Regions from separate parts of the Homo sapiens genome. Here all the other regions are linked to region 2. Evidence: promoter capture Hi-C in human tissues and cell types (Jung and others, 2019). All regions are on one chromosome and are shown on one strand. The core of a region is centred on a gene start or on the middle of the fragment in contact, and the rest is flanking DNA. Distances in the headings are between cores, read along the strand shown. Region 1 overlaps KMT5B (lysine methyltransferase 5B). Region 2 holds the start of LRP5 (LDL receptor related protein 5). Region 3 overlaps PPP6R3 (protein phosphatase 6 regulatory subunit 3). Region 4 overlaps PPP6R3 (protein phosphatase 6 regulatory subunit 3).

What was found. Contacts are between HindIII fragments. The study calls those that stand out against the background at their distance.
Region 1: a fragment that was not itself captured here is called in contact with the fragment with the promoter of LRP5 in region 2 in 3 of the 25 tissues and cell types used here (IMR-90 fibroblasts, adrenal gland and aorta).
Region 3: a fragment that was not itself captured here is called in contact with the fragment with the promoter of LRP5 in region 2 in 2 of the 25 tissues and cell types used here (dorsolateral prefrontal cortex and mesendoderm cells).
Region 4: a contact is called between a fragment that was not itself captured here and the fragment with the promoter of LRP5 in region 2, in 1 of the 25 tissues and cell types used here (hippocampus).

Annotation. Positions count from the first base shown.
Region 1 is chr11:68,170,538-68,173,237 of GRCh38, reverse strand. KMT5B (lysine methyltransferase 5B) reads left to right here. Exons shown (of 11, transcript NM_017635.5): 7 at 1,529-1,695; 8 at 1,987-2,006; 9 at 2,087-2,223. Among named protein-coding and RNA genes, the nearest start is that of KMT5B, 41 kb to the left of the region's middle. The HindIII fragment of the contact is 8,103 bases long and covers 1-2,700 here.
Region 2 is chr11:68,311,223-68,313,922 of GRCh38, reverse strand. LRP5 (LDL receptor related protein 5) reads right to left here and starts at 1,332. Exons shown (of 23, transcript NM_002335.4): 1 at 1,118-1,332. The coding sequence starts at 1,208. It overlaps LOC124900302 (a long non-coding RNA gene), which reads right to left and starts at 474. Exons shown (of 2, transcript XR_007062749.1): 1 at 1-474. RefSeq lists enhancers at 1-470, 471-1,346 and silencers at 768-837, 848-1,007, 1,198-1,397, 1,418-1,707. The HindIII fragment of the contact is 14,214 bases long and covers 1-2,700 here.
Region 3 is chr11:68,464,286-68,466,985 of GRCh38, reverse strand. All of the region lies in intron 1 of PPP6R3 (protein phosphatase 6 regulatory subunit 3), which reads right to left. Among named protein-coding and RNA genes, the nearest start is that of PPP6R3, 4.9 kb to the right of the region's middle. The HindIII fragment of the contact is 5,718 bases long and covers 1-2,700 here.
Region 4 is chr11:68,483,996-68,486,695 of GRCh38, reverse strand. The region is part of intron 1 of PPP6R3 (protein phosphatase 6 regulatory subunit 3); the gene reads right to left. Among named protein-coding and RNA genes, the nearest start is that of PPP6R3, 25 kb to the right of the region's middle. The HindIII fragment of the contact is 3,598 bases long and covers 1-2,700 here.

The sequences.
Region 1 (2,700 bases), core at 165-2,664, 140 kb after region 2:
GAAACCCCATCTCTACTAAAAATACAAAAATTAGCTGGGCGTGGTAGCACACACCTGTAGTCCTAGCTACTCGGGTGGCTGAGGCAGGAGAATCACTTGAACCCAGGAGACAGAGGCTATAGTGAGCTGAGATCGCGCCACTGCACTCCAGCCTGGGCAATAGAGTGAGACTCTATCTCAAAATTAAGTCAGAGTTGAGCCCAGCTAAAAGGGATAAAAGTTACAGATGAAAGAGAATATACTACTGTATCTTCTTTCCTATCATGCCTGTTCCCTATGTTATCTCCCAGGAAAAACATGTAGCTCCTCATGTACCCACCCTCTGATATTTCTACCACAAAAATTTGGGGGGTCAGATATCTGAAAATGGATAGGTAAAAGAACTTTATTGCCAGGCCTCTGGGGTGAGTGTGTGTACATGAAATGTGCTTCATTTACCTCAGGATGTATTGAGCCTGCTAGTTGGATTATGTGGCTCCCTGTGTTGCAGATGGGTGTGTAGGTTTGAGATCTAGAGTCCTAGAGCTGTACCGTCCGGTACAGTAGCCACCAGCCCTTGAGTCCTTGAAATGTAGCTAGTCTGAATTGAGAAGCGCTGTAAGTGTGCTATACACACCAGATTTCATATTAAATTTTATTCCCATTCATAGTTCTTATATTACCTACTGAAATCGTATTTTGGATATTGGGTTAAAATATATTGTTGGCTGGGCATGGTGGCTCATCTGTAATCCCAGCACTTTGGGAGGCTGAGGTGGGCGGATCATGACGTCAAGAAATCGAGACCATCCTGGCCAACACGGTGAAACTCCATCTCTAGTAAAAATACAAAAAAAAAAAATGAGCTAGGTGTGGTGGCACACACCTGTAGTCCCAGCTACTTAGGCTGAGGCAGGAGAATCACTTGAACTCAGGAGGCAGAGGTTGCAGTGAGCTGAGATCACGCCACTGCACTCCAGCCTGGGCAACAGAGCGAGATTCCGTCTCAAATAAAATAAAATAAAATAAATTGTTAAAGTAATTTCACCTATATTCACTTAACTTTCTCAATGTGGCTGCTAAAAAATTTAAGATTGAAAATTTGGCTTGCATTATATTCCTAGCAGATGGTGTGCTCTAAAGAGTGGCACCATGATTCCGGATCCTCATAACCCTTACTGCCACTGGTCCCTGCCTGCTTCATCCAGCAGTCAGAAAGTTTAATTCATTGCCGCAAGTATTTGAGTACTTTCTGCTTGCAAAACACCACACCAGGGCATTCAGAGACATAGGTGGCATAGTCCCTGTCCTGGTTGAGTTTCCATTCTCTTGCAGGAATAAGATAGGTACACAAGTAACCATGGCACAAGGCTGTGGAGCTCCAGGGTAGGAGAGAAGATAGCCAGGTGGGGATCCCAGTGAGCTAACTAAAGTATAGACAGCTAGGCCTTTTCAGTTTCTGATATTTATTGTCAGGATTATTTTATTAAAAGAAGCCTTACTATATTTAATTACTAGTAATTTTTAACACATCACATATTTTAAATAGGAAACGAAATGACAAAATAGAATTACTGGTGGGTTGTATTGCCGAACTTTCAGAAATTGAGGAGAACATGCTACTTAGACATGGAGAAAACGACTTCAGTGTCATGTACTCCACAAGGAAAAACTGTGCTCAACTCTGGCTGGGTCCTGCTGCGTTTATAAACCATGGTAAGCTGTGTTTCCAAGGTGTTGGCGCTAGTGTTGGCCATTCCTGCTAACTGCTAGAATGGCCTTGTCAACCTCAGTCAAACCTTTATCTTCCTTTAAAGGAGAATTTGAAATAGAAATGTTTCCACAAACTTATTAAAATAAATGTATATTCCTTTAGTTGAACTTGAGACCTAAACTCCTATCAAAAGTTGTAAAGTTATATGGAAAGCTTATTTCAGATTTCTATAATTGTTCGTGTTTCAGATCTTATCAACAGTTAATTGACTTTATCTTTTGGACATTTTTCAGATTGCAGACCTAATTGTAAGGTAAGCATTAAAAAAATTTTCTTCAAGTATTTTGTTTTTGCTTCAGGTGTGAGTTTCTTACTGAGTTACTTTTATTTTAGTTTGTGTCAACTGGTCGAGATACAGCATGTGTGAAGGCTCTAAGAGACATTGAACCTGGAGAAGAAATTTCTTGTTATTATGGAGATGGGTTCTTTGGAGAAAATAATGAGTTCTGCGAGTGTTACACTTGCGAAAGGTAAGGTATTAAGTAAAATGTTCAGCCTAAACATTTTTTGTTAACAACCTGATTATGGGGATTAAACTCACATTATCTCTTTGTTGTTTAAATGCAGAGATAGTCTTTATGTTCTTTAGCATAGCGGCTGGTGCAGTGTGTATGAACAAAGTCAAATGCTGCACAGCTATTTAGGGACATTGGAATGTCCCTCAATAAATTTAAAATTTCCCTTTAAAATCTTAATATTACCAGCTAAGAGTGGGCCAGAATACAGATGTGCTTAAGGAGAGAATGGTTAATAGCTCACACACATGCACACACGCAATGCCAGAATGGGGTTGCCGCTACTCAAAATGTCAAGTGGAGTTCACCACTGATAGTCGTCTTGCATATTATCAAGCTGTGTCTTCTGGAATTTTGGTTTCACAGTTCTTAAGAGTTGTTCCCTGATATCAGTCATTCAATAAGGAACCTCTTCTTATGTCTCATCAAGAG
Region 2 (2,700 bases), core at 83-2,582:
CCTCCAAGCAGAGGCTGCAGCCTGGGGGATCTGACTACAGGGCCACCCCGCTGCACCATTCACACTGGAAATATTCAGGGAGACAGCTGTTTGCCTTAAGGAGGCCCAGACAAAGGGGCCCGAGGTCCTCCCCGCTAAACTGCCACAAACAGAACAGGAGCCGCGGCGTGCACAGGCACTTGCGGCCGTGCCACTTGGCCAGCCATACTCCAGAAAAACAAAACACGCACATCCGAAGAGAATGATTTAGGTAGCAAGAGGCTTGCTTGAAAAACCACATGGCAATCTCCAAATTAAAAGAACATGTGTAGCGTTTCACGACTGCTTAAGTTTCCTGAGTCCTCCTGACCTCAACTCCACCCCCTGGGAAACACCAAAAGTTGGAGAGAAAGTTCCCCCGCCCTACCTCTCCCCACGGGAGTGTACAACTGAGGCACAAGCCTGCCTCCCCCACTGCCCCGCGATCTGGGACCACGTCACCTCCGCGTAGCCGACCCGGGGATGGACACTATCTGGGGACCCGGCGGCCACACGGGGCATTCGGGTCGCCCGGGCACCTGGCAGGTGTCAGTCCGCTTGGAAACCCACAGCCACGCGGCTCACAGGAGCAGCGCCACCGGCCAGGCCGCCCCGCGCCCGGGCTCAGAACTTTCTCGCTGCAACTTCAGCCCGTCCTCGGAGCACGCGGGGCGGCCGCGCGGCCGCTGGAAACAGGCTTGCGAACCGGCTCCCCGGGCCAGGCCCGCCTCCGCGCCCCAAGTCCCCGCTCGGTGCCCGGCCCGGGCCACACGGGCCCAGCGCGGGCTCGGCTCGGCTCCCGGCTTCCCGCGGGCTCGGGCAGGTGAGGACCCGCCCGCGCCGCACCTGGCGGAGCGGGCGCCCTCCTCGCCAGCCCGGGACGCAGCGTCCCCGGGGAGGGCCCGGGTGGGGAGACAAAGGGCCCGCGCGTGGCGGGGACGCCGGGGACGGCAGGGGGATCCCGGGCGCGCGCCCCAACTCGCTCCCAACTCGCCAAGTCGCTTCCGAGACGGCGGCGGCGCCCGCGCACTTGGCCGCGGGGCCGCCCGGGCCATTGTCCGAGCAACCCGCGGCCCCCGGCCGGCCTGCGCCCACCTACCCGCGGCGGGGGCCGGGCAGCCGCACAGCGCCAGCAGCAGCAGCAGCAGCAGCAGCAGCGGCCACGGCGGCCCGGGCGGCGCTGCCTCCATGTTGTCCGGCGGCCGGACGGGCCCGCGCCGCGCTCACTCGGGCTCCATGGCGCGGCGGCGGCGGCTCCTCGCGCGGCTCCCGGCGCCTCCGCCTCCCCCCTCGGGCGCCGCGGACCAGGACGACGGGGAGGAGGGAGCTGGGCGCGCGGGAGCGGAAGCCGCGCCGCGTCTCCGCCCCCCGCCGCCGCCACCCGCGCCCCCCGCACCGGCCGCGCCCTCCCGCGGGCGCCCCCCGGAGCCGGCCGGCGGCCAGGCGGCCCCAGCGGCGCAGGTCCCCGCGGCCCCTCCCCGCGCTCCCCGCCCTGCCCTGGAGGTGCCTCCGGGAGGCTTGGCGCGGGGTTTCCGCCCCGCGGGGCCCGGCGGCCGATCGGGGCCCGGAGCCAGGTGTGTCACCTGTGGAGCCTCTATGAGTGGGGAAACTGAGGCACGGAGCAGGGCGGGGTTGCCCAAGGGCACACAGCGAGGCAGTTTCAGGGCGGGCAGCCTGGGGCCCCACGGGGCGGCCCCGGACACTTGTTCTCACCTGTGGAGGGCAGAGAAGGGAACAGGGAGAGAAGTGGCCGGCTGGGAGTGGAGGTGGGTTTGAGGTTTTACTGTAAACTAAATGTGTACCCTCTACCTTAGTTATGAATTATGAGACACGAAGACTGCGAAACAGACACACTCCTCTAAAAGTGCCTCTAGGCTGACAGGGAGAAAGTCCCGCCAGGCTCCCAGACGCCACCTTTGAGTCCTTCAACAAGCCCGCCAGGGCCTCTTGCCCACCGGTGTCAGCTCAGCCACTGAACCCTCCAGGAAGAAGACGTGCTGGTAGGAGAAGAATCTCACCCAGGCACAGCCTGGAAGGGGCACAGAAGGGGCTCTGGAACCAGCAAGCCCAAGTTGGAACTCCCAGTCTGCTACTTTCTAGAACGACTGTGCCCTTGGCGGGTCTAAGTAGAACCTCTCCGCGCACTCTTTCCTCCTTTGTAAAGTGGGGACAGCAATGGCCACCTTGCAGGTTCAGAGAGGGCTTGCAGTACCTCACAGAACTGAGTGCCCGTGAACGTGTGTGTTCCTCCAGATTTGTGACAGCTTTGCCAGGCTGGAGTCAGGCTGAACGCCTCTGCCCTCATGGGGTTTATATTCTAGGAAGACCAACAAAAACAAGAAGACGGAAAATTAAAACAACAAAAGCCCCATTGACAGGCCATGAAGAATGCCATGAGAAATGAAGGGCGTTGTGCTGCAGTGTTTGGGGAAACTGGCTTAGGGAAGGAAGGACACTTGAGCTGCTACCAAGGAGCAGCCGTCCGGTGGGAGGGCAGTTCAGGAAGAGCAGACATCCACGGAGGAGGCGCTGGGGCAGAGGGCAGCCTGGTCGCTGGATTCGGGGGAGGAACCACATCAGGCCATGAGCTGGAGCTGGTGGTAGAAGGTACAGGAGAGGCCAGCCAGGGCCAGCACATGTCAGACCTCAGGCGGGGAAGAGGAATCGAGAATGCACCCCACG
Region 3 (2,700 bases), core at 107-2,606, 150 kb before region 2:
GCGGCTCACTAAGAGATCGAGACCATCCTGGCTAACACGGTGAAACCCCGTCTCTACTAAAAATACAAAAAATGGCCAGGCGCGGTGGCTCACGCCTGTAATCCCAGCACTTTGGGAGGCCAAGGCGGGCGGATCACAAGGTCAGGAGATGGAGACCATCCTGGCTAACACGGAGAAACCCCATCTCTATAAAAATACAAAAAAAATTAGCCGGGCGTGGTGGCAGGCACCTGTAGTCCCAGCTACTCGGGAGGCTGAGGCAGGAGAATGGTGTGAACCTGGGAGGCGGAGCTTGCAGTGAGCCGAGATAGCGCCACTGCACTCCAGCCCGGGCGACAGTGTGAGACTCCGTCTCAAAATAAATAAATAAATACAAAAAATTAGCCGGGCATGGTGGCCGGCCCCTGTAGTCCCAGCTACTGGGGAGGCTGAGGCAGGAGAATGGCGTGAACCCGGGAGGCAGAGCTGGCAGTGAGCCGAGACCACGCCACTGCACTCCAGCCTGGGTGACAGAGCGAGACTCCGTCTCAACAAAAAAAAAAAAAAAAAAAAGAAAATGTCCTAGCTAGGCATAGAGATAAGATACCTTTCCACATACTGTCAAATGCCCTTTTACTTGCTTCTTTACCACGTAGCCAACCTACCTGGTATCCAAATGTCAGTCTGTAATCTTTCAATACCTGAAATAAACTGAGTATTGATCTAACTAGCAACTATCTCCCTCCTCATAAAACTAAAGGGGGTGAGAAGTAGGAAAGGGGGCTTCCATGACAAATAAATCTAAGCCAAAGTCAAAAGGCCAAAACAAAATCTCCAGTCAACCTAGATCCATAATGCAGCAGGAGAAACACCCCCTCCCACTTGAAGTAGCATCTATTTCAAGAATGCCGGAAACATTTTGCAAAAACCTACAGCAAGCTTCGGACGGGTCTGGAACCAGAGAGTCAGTGTCTGAGGTTTGGTCAAAGGATAACTGTTGTGTAGGGAGCTATAAACAGCTATCTGTCATTACAAAACGGCTTCAGTATGGGAAGAATGGCACTGCTTTTTAAGACTCCTCAAACTAAGGAGGCAAGTCGAAGTAATCATTTCTTATAAATGAGTAACAAAGTGTAACTATCTTATTCTTTTGCAAAACTTCTGGCAATCTCAACCACCCAAAGTTTAAACAAATCAACCAACTGACCAGCAAACAGAAGCTCTTTCCTCCCAGGCCCCATTGACACCATGTACAATTCTTAACAGCTTTGTCGTCTCTTGTTTGCCTCTTCCTCTAGACTGCAGGTCCTTAAGGGCCTGTTCATCAGTGAATCCCTAATACAGTTCCTAGCAGAGTAAGGACTCAATTAATGTATTTGCTGATGAAATAAATGGATATTAGAAGTAGATGGTGGTCACTGGTAGTTCTCAACATAGGCACAGGCCGAATTTCAGGATGAAGAATAAGAAAATGCCTCCATGACCTTTTGTAACTTCAGATATTAACATTTAGCTGCTAAAAATTTATAGTTTTCCTAATATTCTTCCATTCCATAAACTAGATAATCTAAATTTTAATATGAGCAAAAAAGATCTACCCTTCTCTCTACCACTGCATCTCATCTCCCCAGGAGAAAAGAACACTTCTCTGCTGGGATCAGAGTCTAGGGCACAGAAGAGTCCAACTTACCAGTGGGCAGGATCACTGTGTTAAAGGCTGAGCATACTGTATGCCTATCTGTGCCCTCAATGGGCAGAACTGGTAAACTGATCCAGGGCTAATTCTCTGGGAATAGGTCTTTATTAAAACAAAAACAAAAACAAAAAACAGGCATGGTGGCTCACGCCTGTAATCCCAGCACTTTGGGAGGCCGAGGCGGGCGGATCACTTGAGGTCAGGAGATCGGGACCAGCCTGGCCCACATGGTGAAACCCCATCTCTACTAAAAATACAAAAATGAGCCAGGTGTGGTGGCACGCACCTGTAATCCTAGCTACTCAGGAGGCTAAGGCAGGAGAATCACTTGAACCCAGGAGGCGGAGGTTGCAGTGAGCCAAGATCATGCCACTGCACTCCAGCCTGGGTGACATAGTGAGACTGTCTCCGAAAAAAAAAAAAAAAAGTTGAAGCTGGCATCTAAAACCAGACCTGACCACTGACTGACAAAAGGAGGGCAAAAGATACTAACTCAAAAATTACAGTAGTGTAAGATTATTCAGCACAGAAGCAAACTCTAAATATCTAAGAATTTTGCTTAGTTTCAGCACAGTATGGTAATGTATTTTCATGAGGTTAAGAAAAAAAAGTCCTAAGATATTTTATAAAATCAATTAACAAATGCTTCTAAAGTTCAGTCTTCAGGCATCTGAAAAATGGTTAAGTATACCATCTAAATAATCCCCACTACTAAATAATCTCCAAGGCAGGATCTAGGTACTGCAAAGACCAAGTTCACAGATCACCGAAAGGAACCCTTAACTCACAAACAGTCCCTAAACCTGTGGTGTAAAACAGTGGTTCCAAAATTCAGCTGCATTTCAGTATTGTCTGAGAAGCTTCTAAAAAATAGATTCTCGTGGCCGGGCATGGTAGCTCACACCTGTAATCCCAGCACTTTGGGAGGCCGAGGCGGGTAGATCACGAGGTCAGGAGTTCAAGACCACCCTGGCCAAGATGTGAAACTCCATCTCTACTAAAAATACAAAAAACAGCCGGGCATG
Region 4 (2,700 bases), core at 162-2,661, 170 kb before region 2:
TATTTAAGGAAAAAATAATACCAATTCTCTAAAATTGCTTCCAGAAAATAGAAAGCAGCAGACGGAATTTTTTTTTTTTTTTTTTTTTTTTTAAGACAGAGTCTTGCTCTGTCGCCCAGGCTGGAGTGCAGGGCGTGATCTCAGCTCACTGCAAGCTCCGCCTCCCGGGTTCACGCCATTCTCCTGCCTCAGCCTCCCAAGTAGCTGGGACTACAGGCGCCCGCCACCACACCCAGCTAATTTTTTGTATTTTTAAGAGAGATGGGGTTTCACCGTGTTAGCCAGGATGGTCTTGATCTCCTGAACTTGTGATCCACCCGCCTCGGCCTCCCAAAGTGCTGGGATTACAAGTGTGAGCCACTGCACCCGGCAGTCGCAGACAGAATACTTTCTAATTCATTCTATGAGGTCAGCATAACCATAATACCAAAATCAGACAAGGACACTACAAGGCAAGTACAAATCAGTATCTCTCATGAACACAGATATAAAAATCCTCAACAAAATATGGGAAAACTGAATCAATACATAAAAATAATTATACATAAAAAGCATTATATATAAAAAATTATATACCACAACCAAATATTTATCCCGTATTTAAGGCTGCTTTAATTTTTTTCTTTTTGAGACTCTTTTTGAGTCTCAAAAAATTAGGTGTAGCTTTTTTTTTTTTCTTGTATTTTTAGTTAAGAAAGTGGTTTCACTGTGTCACTCAGGCTGGTCTCAAACTCCTGGCCTCAAGTGATCTGTCTGCCTTGGCCTCCCAAAGTGTTGAGATTACAGGTGTGAGCCACTGTGCCCAGCCAAGGCTGCTTTAATAATCAAAAATCTGTCGCCGGGCATGATGGCACACACCTGTAGTCCCTGCTACTTGGGAGACTAAGACAGGAGGATTGCTTAAGCCCAGGAGGCCAAGGCTGCAGTGAGCCAAGATCATCCCACTGCACTCCAGCCTATGTGACAAAGTGAGACTCTTGTCTCAAAATAAATAATTTTTTAAATCAATTAATTAACATGACCCATCACATCAGTAGGTTCAAGAAGACTCACCTGATCACATCAACAGATGCAGAAAAGGCATTTAATAAAATCCAACACCTGTTCATTTCAAAAAACACTCAGAAAACTAGGAACAGTAAGAAGCTTCCTCAACTTGATAAACAACATATATCAAAAACCTACAACTATCATCATAATTGATGGTCAGAAATTAAAGCTTTCCCACTAAGATCAGGAAGCGGGCAAAGATGTTCCCTCTCATCATCCTTTTCCATCATATCATACTGGAAGTCCTAGCTAATTCAATAAGAAAAGGAAATAAAAAGTATACAGATTGGAAAGCATAAAATAAAACTGTCTTTGTTGACAGACAACATGATGGAGAAAATGTGAAGGAATTGAAAAAAAAAAAAAAAAAAAGTCCCAGAACTTATAAGCCATTATACCAAGGTTACAGGCTACAAGGTTAATATACAAACATCAACTGCTTTCCTATATACCTGCAAGGAACAAGTGGAATTTGAAAATAAAAAAAAAATTATTTATATTAACATATCCAAAAAATGAAATACTTAGGTATAAAACAAAATATGTACAAGATCTATATAAGGAAAACTATAAAACTCTGATGACAGACCCCAAAGAAGAACTAAACAAATGAAGAGATATTCCATGTTCATGGATAAGAAGGTTCAATATTGTCATGATATCAGTTCTGCCTAACTTGATCTACAGATTCAATGCAATCCTGATCAAAATCTGACAACACATTTGATAATCAACTATTATCCAAAAATATATAAAGAAGGCTGGGCGCTGTGGCTCATGCCTGTAATCTCAGCACATTGGGAGGCCGAGGTGGGTGGACCACCTGAGGTCAGGAGTTTGGGACCAGCCTGACCAACATGGTGAAACCCCATCTCTACTAAAACACAAAAATTAGCTGGGCGTGGTGGCGGGCACCTGTAATCTCAGCTACTCCGGAGGCTGAGGCAGGAAAATCACTTGAACTCAGGAGGCAGAGGTTGCAGTGAGCCAAGACTGTGCCATTACACTCCACCCTGGGCAACAAGAGCGAAACTCCGTCTCAAAATATGTATCTTATATTATATATATATAAAAATATATATAGACACTTAAAACTCAAAAAAATGAACAACCTGATTAAAAAATGGACAAAAGACCTGAGCAAACATTACAGACAGCAAGTAAGCATTTGAAAACATGTTCAACATCATACATCATTAGGGAACTGCAAATTAAAGCAACAATGAGATAGCACAACACATCTATTAAAATGGCCAAACTCAAGACACATCACCAAACACTGTCAACAATGTGGGGCAAGAGGAACTCTCATTCATTGCTGGTGCGAATATAAAATGGTACAGCCACTGTGGGCAGTTTCTTCCAAACAGCAAACATACTCTTTCTGTACAATACAGTAATCATACTCCTTGGTATCTGCCGAAGTAAAGTGAAAAAACTTACGTCCACACAAAAACCTGCACACGGATATTTACAGCATCTTTATCCACAATTGCCAAAATTGGGAAGCAACCAAGCTATCTTTCAGTAGGTGAATGAATAAATTTGGGCACATCCAGACAATGGAATATTATTCAGCACTAAAAAGGAATGAGCTATCAAGCCATGAAAAGACATGAAGAAAACTTAATGCATATTATTACGTGAAAG